Regions from separate parts of the Homo sapiens genome. Here region 1 is linked to region 2. The links are contacts of gene promoters, found by promoter capture Hi-C in human tissues and cell types (Jung and others, 2019). All regions are on one chromosome and are shown on one strand. Each heading gives the region's core, a stretch centred on a gene start or on the middle of the fragment in contact. The rest is flanking DNA. Distances are from core to core; before and after follow the strand shown.

Evidence for each region. The method cuts DNA at HindIII sites, captures the fragments that hold promoters and counts their contacts. A contact is called where the count stands out against the background at its distance.
Region 1: a contact is called between a fragment that was not itself captured here and the fragment with the promoter of SP140L in region 2, in 1 of the 25 tissues and cell types used here (mesenchymal stem cells).

What each region holds. Positions count from the first base shown.
Region 1 is chr2:230,171,331-230,176,490 of GRCh38, reverse strand. It overlaps SP110 (SP110 nuclear body protein), which reads left to right. Exons shown (of 19, transcript NM_080424.4): 15 at 3,532-3,647; 16 at 4,317-4,425; 17 at 4,724-4,795. Among named protein-coding and RNA genes, the nearest start is that of SP110, 46 kb to the left of the region's middle. The HindIII fragment of the contact is 8,617 bases long and covers 1-5,160 here.
Region 2 is chr2:230,325,119-230,329,924 of GRCh38, reverse strand. It overlaps SP140L (SP140 nuclear body protein like), which reads right to left and starts at 2,732. Exons shown (of 19, transcript NM_138402.6): 1 at 2,624-2,732; 2 at 1,094-1,168. The coding sequence starts at 2,655. RefSeq lists an enhancer at 2,589-3,058. The HindIII fragment of the contact is 8,396 bases long and covers 1-4,806 here.

The DNA.
Region 1 (5,160 bases), core at 1-2,500, 150 kb after region 2:
ATTAAATGAAAAAGCTCATCATGTCCATGTGTTTTAGAAAAAGATCTGGATATTTGGATGGCTATAAACCAAAGGTGTCAGAAATAAAATGCTCTAAGCCTAGGCAACATAGCAAGACCCCATCTCTAACAAATTTTTTTTTAATCAACTAGGAATGGTGGTGTGCACCTGTAGTCCCAGCTAAGGCTGAGGTAGGAGGATTGCTTGAGCCCAGGAGTTCAAGACCAGCCTGAGTGATATAGTGAGACTCTGTATTGCTATACAGAGCGATGTAATCCCAGCACTTTGGGAGACCAAGGTGGGTGGATCCCTTGAGCCCAGGAGTTTGAGACCAGCCTGGGCAACAGGACAAAACCCCTTCTTTACAAAACATACAAAAATTAGCCAGGCATGGTGGCATGCACCTGTAGTCCCAGCTACTCAGGAGGCTGAGGTGGGAGGATCACTTGAGCTCTGGAGGCAGAGGTTGCAGTGAGGCGAGATCATGCCACTGCACTCCAGCTGGGGCAACAGAGCAAGACCCTGTCTCAGAAAAAAAAAAAAAAGAATGCTGCAGCATGAAAAGCAAAAGAAAAGGCATTGAAATAGACAGGAACAGTATATGAAAGGACAAGAGGATCATCCATGATTGCATACTGAGTATTGCTGAATCCTCCATGCTTCTTATTGGTAGCACCAGGATGGAATGACGCCTTTGAACTGAGCTTTGTCTCTACAGGGCATCCCTACAGCTGGAAATGGCAGTCATCTATTGGCTGCACTAACTCCCCCTCCTCAACCTCCTCTACTTGCTTAGATGTGTTCTCCAGACACATCAGCTCCACTCATGAGCTTCCCGTTAGTTGTGAACTTCCAGCAGAGACAATGGTGCCTCCCCCATCTTGCCCTGGAGGCTGGCCTGACCAGGCTGGATTCATTCAAAGTTTAAGGCACTGGTCTCCCAATGCCATCTATTATATAAATCATCTTTCCCATGCTGGTCTGAAATACCCTGAGAATCAGGGGTGCTCAGTGTAACATCATAATAGCAAAAAATTAGGGACGAACACAAGTTCTATCAGTATTGCAGAATAAACTGATACAGCTACAGAATGGTTTTTTTTTAAACTTTTCTTATAGAATATTAGACCTTTGATATAGATATTTGTTTAAATACATGGATTCATAAGTATGGAGTTATCCTTCAATCAATGGAAAGCCACCAAATGGTTTTGTGGTCAGGAGAGCTTCAGGACACTTAATGCTAGTTGTGACGTGTGGGGAAGGAACCCATTGTTGCTTATGTGAACGTGTAGGTAGGTCTATGAGTGAAAAAATAGCCAAAAGAATCAACTGCACTTATTTTGAGATGAGATCACAGGGACATATGCCTTCTGTATTATACCTTTATGTACAATTGGAATTACTATAATGACCATTTGTTACTTTTGCAACCAGAAAAAAAAAAATCTTTAAAATCCAGATCATTAATTAATAGCCCCAACATGGTAATACCCTCTAACTCTCCTAATGCCACATGTCAGCTCATAATAGCCAGGGGCATGCTTGACCCAGCCTCTCAGTCCCACCTTCCAGGGCCAGGTTGGGAGAATAAGATGAAGGTTTACCCGACTGAGAATGAGCCAGTGCGGGCCTTGCCCTCAGCCCCATCATCCAGTGTCACTGCTGCTCGGCAGCACGTCCGTCTGTCTCCACTGCAGTCTCACTTATGTATGTGTACAACAAAGAGACCGATGCTGGTACTCCCAAAATGTGTTTTGTGGTTGCCCTGCAGCGTGCTGCCTCCATGACCCACACATGATGGGCAGCTGGTGTAAAGAGCCACAGACTTGGCCTGTGAGAGCCTCCGTCTCCAGAAGGGCTTGGATGCAGCCAGCAGTTGCCACTCTATCAGCATATAGTGTGAGGCTGAGGAGAACAGCTTTTGGGGTTTTGGTTTTTTTTTGTATCAGAAGCCCATGGCCATCATGGGTGGTCCAGAGATGCCAGGAGGCATGAGAGGAGGTTGCCAAAGCTTCCACAGTGAATGAGACTCAGGAGGGCACTAATGTCTGCTGTATTGCAATTTGACAGATTCTAGAACCTTTTGTTAGAAGGGGCCCCATTCAAAGTGGGCTTATTTTGCAAGTAACAGCGTAAATGGGCTTACCTAAAATCTACAAATGAAGGATGTGTTTCCTTGAACTCAAGAGGCCTGAAGGATGCTGGGAGGTTTATTAGAACACTGTGAGTACTCAGAGGGTCAATAATTATTTTTTGACAGTGTCAGGGATGGAGCATCCCTCAACTGACCAGACAATGGCCAGAAATTGGTGTGGATCCCTGTACTATGCCTGGGGCAGTGGCCCATACTTTTTTGTTTTAGTTTAATCCCACCATGTGGAAACACAAACCCCATCCTTTTCTATGAGTTCTTTGTGAGTAATGTCCTGAGTGTGTCAAATGAATTTGCTGAAAGAAGGGTGTCTTCAGGGTGATGTTACACCTGTACTCCTAGAGAATGTCAGATGCAGTTCAAATCCTGCCTGCAAAGATTGTGTATGGTGGCAGAACTGTCGAGGTACCCCGTGGTAGCCAGATAACGGTCTATTGTGTCCCTTCGGGGGTGAAAGCAACCTGCAGCTGAGATCTGTTGAAATAGGCGCTGAACAGAACACATTAGTCAAATCTATGCCTGCAGAGTATTTACCACTTGCTAAGTGGATGGAGTCAGTAATTTCAATAACATTGGGCCATCACAGGTGGGGTCACAGGATTCAGGTTGTAGTAATTCACCGAGAGGCACCATTCATTCTTTCCAAGCCTAAGAACAGACCAAATTGGGCTGTTAAATGGAGAAACAGTGGGGATAATCACCCTTTCTCTAAATAGATCTTCCATAATGAGTTTCAATCCTTGAAAGCCGTGTTTTAATTCATATTGATCAGTATTAAATATTTTAACAGAGAAGGTCCATAGAGTTCCATTTTGTAAAGCCAATTGTAAGTGCCAAAGGTAACTTAATTTTAATTATTTTAATGTGTTATTTACTGGGTCATAGCATCCATGCCCACTGTGGAACATTTTAGGGCCATGTTATGTTACGACCATGGGGCAGTTAGGCAAGGCACCAGGAACAACAGTTCCCATACTCCTGCACCCAAATGCCAGTTATCATCATTTCTTACTTTGGTCAGTCAGATCTATTAATAGAGGCCTGGTGGGCTCAGCAAATGCGCCCAGAGTGGCCCAGCTCAAAGCACAAGCTTGCCAGCAGGCAGCAGCACAGCTCAAAACGCAGCAGAACCTGTTGGCAAGCCACAGCCAGAGAAGAAAAGTCCTGGTGGCGGCGGTCACCACCCAGACTCTCTGCTTGTTGTGCCATTTGTCTTGCAATTTCCCCCAGGGAGGTGGCATCAGCTCCCCCCATCAAAAATTGGGTTTGGATATCCACTCTGGCACACACAAAAATGATGTGTTCTAGAACCCCACAGGGTCAGCATTCGTGGGTCTCCATGGTCCTAGCGGTGCCCACGTTATCTGCCCTTGCAGCGGAAAAACTCGGATGAATGCGAGGTGTGCTGTCAAGGGGGACAACTTCTCTGCTGCGGTACTTGTCCACGAGTCTTCCATGAGGACTGTCACATCCCCCCTGTGGAAGCCAAGAGGTGAGTGGGATGCAGCCCCGCCTCGGGCACACAGCACTCACCTCCAGATGGAAAGGGCAGGACCTGTGAGCGTCGGGGACGAGGGTGTGACGCAGAGCAGTCTGGTGCCAGAGACTCTGGGCCTCTCTGGGTCTCTGAGACTGCCAGTGAGCCTCTTGGCCCCACACTGCTTCTGCCCCTGGAAGTGCCCTTTCCTAGTATGCTATTCCCTGGACAGCAGGGACTCCTGTCCAAAAGGAGGAGGGGACGGGAAAAGCCAGCTTATGTTCTGTGCCTGTTGAGGAAAGACAGGAAGCACGGCTTGTCACACATTTCACCATAGTCTCACCTGGCTGATGGAGGCCTGAGGTCCCTGCAGGTGAAAGCCCAGATTCTGACACTCAAGCCTGGCAGGCAGGGTTCCTTTGTGCTCCCAGCAGCTCAGACAGGGAAAAGAGAGCCCACACTTAACAGTGACACCACCTTCCTCAGGCTGCCCGCCTGCCGCTACCACTGATGCGAGGGAAGGGCCAATGCTGGAGACCCCATGTGGGGATCTTGGACACTCTGGGAGGTGTCCCACCCTCATGGCTGAGCCCATCCTTCCTGAGGGAAGACAGTGGCAGCCACAGGAATGGTGGCCATTTCCAGGGGCTTTGCCCTCTGCTCACCTTGTGTCCAACCTCTCAGGATGCTGTGGAGTTGCACCTTCTGCAGGATGAAGAGGTCTTCAGGAAGCCAACAGTGCCATCATGTATCTAAGACCCTGGAGAGGCAGATGCAGCCTCAGGACCAGCTGGTGAGTTGGATGCAAACCCCAAACCTATACTTTTCCCTTCTCACACGAGAAGCACAAACAGGCACAGGGTCAGGGCAATGTACCAAAGGGAGCCTTCAATGTCTCCCTTTAAAGGATGACGATTTAATGCCCAAACTCAGAGTCTAAACAAAATCCCACACACCCTGTGCGCCTTGGGAAGCATGGCTGGAATGCTGACTGGGCTTGGCTGCCCCATCCGTGTGCATGTCTAGACACTCGCCTGGCTTCACTGTTTCTAAGCTGCATTTCACTTTCAAGCCCTCTTCACATTTTACAGAAATGTGAGTTCCTCCTCTTGAAGGCCTACTGTCATCCACAAAGCTCCTTTTTTACGGGCATCCCATTTAATGTAAGTCACATTTTACGGTTCTCTTGCATAAAATGCATTTGGAGAAATTTGGGGGCTGATCTGGCAGGTGCTGCAGTTTGCTCAGGAAGCTGGAGAACAGAAGAGAAGGGCAGCGTGGCAGCAGTGGAGCGGGGCAGCAGGGATTTTGCTGCACACTCTGGAGAGGGACTACCTGGTTCAAACTCCACCCCACTGCTCACGGGCTCTGGGATACCGGGCAAGTTGCTTCTCCTCCTGTGTATCTGTTTCATCTTCTCTTTAGGAAGAATGTCTTTCCTACTAGAGATTAAGAGTCACAGATGCCAGCTGGGCTCAGCGGCTCACGCCTGTAATCCCAGCACTTTGGGAGGCCAAGGCGGGCAGAT
Region 2 (4,806 bases), core at 1,483-3,982:
ATACAGGGGAGCTTGCAGAGCTATAGAAACAAATTAAGATCCCTCCTCAAAAATAAACACGATCAATTTTTTTAAATTGGAAATTACAAGAAACAAGAAATCTACTGAAAGCTAGATGTATTAATCTGTTTTGACACTGCTATAAAGGAATACCCCAGACTGGGTAATTTATAAACGAAAGAGGTTTAATTGGCACACAGTTCTGCATGGCTGGGGAGGCCTCAGGAAACTTAAAATCATGGCAGAAGGTGAAGGAGAAGCAAGTGTCTTCTTCACAAGATGGCAAGAGAGAGAGCACAAGGGAAGCTATCATTTACAAAACCATCAGATCTTGGGAGAATTCACTCACTGTCATGAGAATAGCATGGGAGAAGCTGCCCCCATGATCCAATCACCTCCCACCAGGTCCCTCTCTCAACACCTGGAAATTACAATTCTGATTACAATTCAAGATGAGATTTGGGTGGAGACACAGAGCCAAACCATATCACTAGATAATTGTCATGGAGGAAAAGTTTGAGACAACTATTGTGAACTCAAAGTAAAAAACTGAAAAGATGAAAGGACCACGGGGAAGATAAAAGCTGTGAAGGCTGAAGTTGCTCCAATGTAAGAATAATTTTGCCTAAAAATTGAAAAAGAAAATGTCAGAGATTTTAGAGAAGGAACTTTTCCTGGAACAAAGGCAGAATCAAATCTGCCACCTTAACAGAAGAACGACTTTAAAAACTGGCCGTGCTCACAGAGTGCCTCAGCAACTCTCTGCATCACTATTTATAATGAGGGTGCATCTGTCTTATAAAATCTATGTCGTAAGATGTTTATACATGAAATTTTAAGCTGTTAATAAGATAAAAGTCACCATATACAAATGTAAGGGACAAGAAAAGTATATTTATACTTTGCAGAATATTTAGTGAACTCTCCCATATCATGAAAAAAAGACAAACACCTCAACTGAATCACATTGGCAAAAAATAAACAAAAAAATTATGGAAGAGGAAATTTCAGTGGCCAAGAAACATGAAAAGCTGTTCAGCTTTCCACATTATCAGGAAAATACAAATTAAAACAAATTGTAATTCTTCATCACCTTTGCAGACTTTGGCTGTGTGCAGGAAGATGGTTCATCTCATTTGCTACTTGTGAAACACCTCCGTTCAGCCCCCTAAAAAGACAATTTGGCAGGATCTATAAACAAGTAAATAACAGCACCCTTTGCTTCAACAATTCCACTTTTTAAGGTTTAGGCACAAGAGAAATACTTGCATATGTGCAAAAAAAAGAGAAATATATAATCATTATTATAGCTTATTGATAAACGTGAACAATTTAAAACAATCTAAATGTCCTTCAATTGGAGAATGGTTAAAAAATTATGCTATGTAAATTCTATGGAATAGTATATGTAAAAAGAGTGAGGTAGATCTATATGCATTAAGGTGAAAAGATCTCTAAGATTTCCACCATTAAAATGAGTAGAAATGCAAAATGCAGAATAGCACGCACAATGTAATTCCATTTATTACAAAACGAGAACACAAATTATATGTTTACAAAAACATACTTCATACACGTAAATGCATCGAAAAATATGAGAAAAGTTATGCCGAAGACTCTTCACAAGACTGTGAAAGGAAGCTACAAGGCGAAGTGAGTGGTGAAGAAGACTTTTTCGTTTATACACTTCTCCACTGTTTGAAATTTTATGAGTAAGAATGTAATGTATTTCTTTTGTATTAAAAAATTTAAAAGATTAAAATCGCTTGAACCCAGGAGACAGAGGTTGCAGTGAGCCGGGATTGTGCCACTGCACTCCAGCCTGGTTGACAGAGTGAGACCCTGTCTCAAAAAAATGAAATAAAATAAAAAGATTACGTAATGTTATTTATAAACTCGTTACTAGAGAAAAGATAGGATTTCCATCTCTTTTCTGGTCAGAGGCATCCCCCATCTTGGGACAGGAAATTGAAGTAAAAATAAAAATATTTAGCTTTCTGCCATCCTGGGCCTTTTTCTTCTTTTTCCTTCTTTGGATCAAGGTCAATTGTATCAGAACTCACACCCTGAGTCAGTCAAGGAAATAGCCCCAAAGCTGACTGAGGCCCCTTGCCAAGACAGGTGAAACCACAGTTTCCAATGTTTAAAAGTAAGCCAGCTGTTTACCCTGGAGTGTCTATTTCCAAACTACCTTCTTTGACATGACATATGTGAAGGTAGAGAGGGCAGAGGGATGTGAAAGGGTTGGGAGATCATGAGGAAATGTTTGTTGAAACACAAACATATAATTTGTGTTCCTCATTCTCATGAGGAAATAATAACTCTCAGTCACAAATGACTGAAACGACTGTTCAGAGTGTCCCCGCCAGCTGAGCAGTAGTTTCAAAACAAGAAAAGTCATCTGTGTTATGGCAAGCTGGACTCACACAAACAGCTGTCCTGCTGCAGTTGTAAAAATCTGATTTCCTTATTACATTCTCTTTTATTCCATTATATTACACTACCTACCTATGTTCTTGCAAAGCAGGACTAAACTGAAGCTTTAGACAGAAACTGAACTACAGGCATGAAAGCTCCAATACTGCCAGAGATAAAGGTGAAAGGAAGAGAGATAAAGACTCACCTGGTGCTCAGGTCGCTGCCCCCACCTGCCATCGTCCCACCCTAGGCCCTGCCTGGGTGTCAGAGCCTGGCCTATGAGCTCCCCAGTCGGCCCAGCCTGCGTGCAGTGTGGCTGCCCTGACCCGGAGCAGGAAGTCGGCCGACAGACTGACTCACCCTCACAGATTTCTGCCCAAATGGGGAAAAGAAAAGTGAAAGTATTTATTTAACTTCCTGCTGGGATACAGACACCGTGTTTCTCCTCCTTTTTCACTCCAAGGGGTTCTCAGCTTTTCTGAAATGTGGCAGACGGTTGGAGGAGAGGCCTGACAAGCAGCAAGACCTGCAGGACCAGGGAAAGGAGGGCCCAGAGGACGAGCAGGGCTGGCTTCCGGGAGTCCACTTGCTTGTGCAATGGACAGCAAAAAAAAAAAAAATGTCCTTGAACCAAAATAGTCCTTAGCTGCTCTGCCCTCTTAAGAGGGGGCATAGTTTACATGGGAGTTGGGGGGAAAACTCCATGTTTGCCCCTTCCCCTTGCTGAAATGGCTGGGGGTGAGAGTTGGAGGGTTGGAGGGAAAGCCAGAAACTTCAAATCTTCTCTCAGGCCCATGGGAGAGCATGGACTGGACTAAGGTAGGTCCTGACATGGGGACCCAGGGCTGGAGAGAACCAAAATGCTCAGCATTATAACCTGGGGAGAGTGTTCTTAGCCTTCCTGGAAATCAGCCAGAAGTAAGAGAGAACTCTCCACACCCCTGGGACCAGAGGCTGGAGCCAGCATGGTAAGAAAGGCAAACATTTTAAGGGGCAAGGGTTTAAGGAATCTTGACTATGGGGCCACCTTGGAACAGCCAGGGATGAAGAGAGCTTCGGAGAAGTCACTGGAATCTTGAGAGAACAAAAGCTTCTCATTGGAGGAGGATGGAGGTTGGAACCCAGATGATCTAGACATGGAAGGGCAGGGTGGCTCCCGCGGGAGGTTCTATCTCTTCCCAGATTTTCCATTTAGATTCTGATTCAACATTCCTCAGAGAACAAGAAGCGACCGAGAAGACTCGCTTTACATCAGTATAAAGTCATAGGTAAAGAAATAGAAGCAAAGGGCGCATGAGAATGGGGCCACAGGACACAACCAGGGACCAGAACTCCAGGCTGGACCATGGGGCAGAGACAGGGAGGCAGCTGGGAGCCTGGGGGCGCTGGAATCCAGGGCCCAAGGTGAGCAGAGGGTGGAAGCTGGTGAGGATTCAGGGGCCAGAGGGGATGGTGCTCCAGAGCCATGTTTTCCAAATTACATTCTGCTGAATCCAACTTTTTCCAGCCCCCACCCCCAGCCATCTCAGCAAGGGGAAGGGGCAAACATGGAGTCCTCCCCCAACTCCCATGTAAACTATGCCCCATCTTAGAGGGCAGAGCAGCTAAGGACAATTTTGGTTCAAGGACTTTTTTTTTTTTTGCTGTTTATTGCACAATAGTTGGAAGCTGTGAATGCTTGTTCAGGTACATTTGAAAATACGAGGGTGGGGGGTTTCTACCCTGATTCTACTGGTGCCCTGCTTTCCCCAAAATGAGTTAATAAGCAGGTGCCAAGACACTGGTGAGGACAGCTTTTCCAGTGGGCGAGGTCACTGTTTCTATCAGGTACTGCACACCTGTAGGTCTCTCTCTCTCTTTCTCTTGCTCGCTCCCCCATGACTCCCCAGTTTTATGGAGGCACAGTGGCTGGTAAGCTGAGCATCTGTTGGGCACAGTTGTCCTCTGATCCCAGTCTCCATGGAGCACAGCAGCACTGACAAGGCCTGGCGCGGACCACACCAGTCGGCTCTGGCGTCTGCACTCACCCCTCTCACTGCTCTTGGGCAGCAAGCAGGCCCAGGCCACTGAGTGGCACTGACATATGTACCAGCTTTTCTCTGGGTGTGCTTAGGGGCTGGAATTCCAGACCAATGAGCTGGCTGGAAATCTGCAAGTGTTGACCTTTACAGGTGGACATGCCCTTGCTAGGGCAGCTCCTGACAGCAGGGAAGGAGATGTTCTTGTCAGACAGGGTTGGAAAAAGCTGAGCACACACCACACTCTGCAAAAGCAATGCCAGTTAATGGAGAATCTCTAGGCTTCTGTGGGAAAAGCAAAGTTTCTTTGATCTGGAATACATCAGACACACCTGGGTTGGGAAAGGGACAGGACCAAATTAAGAAGTAG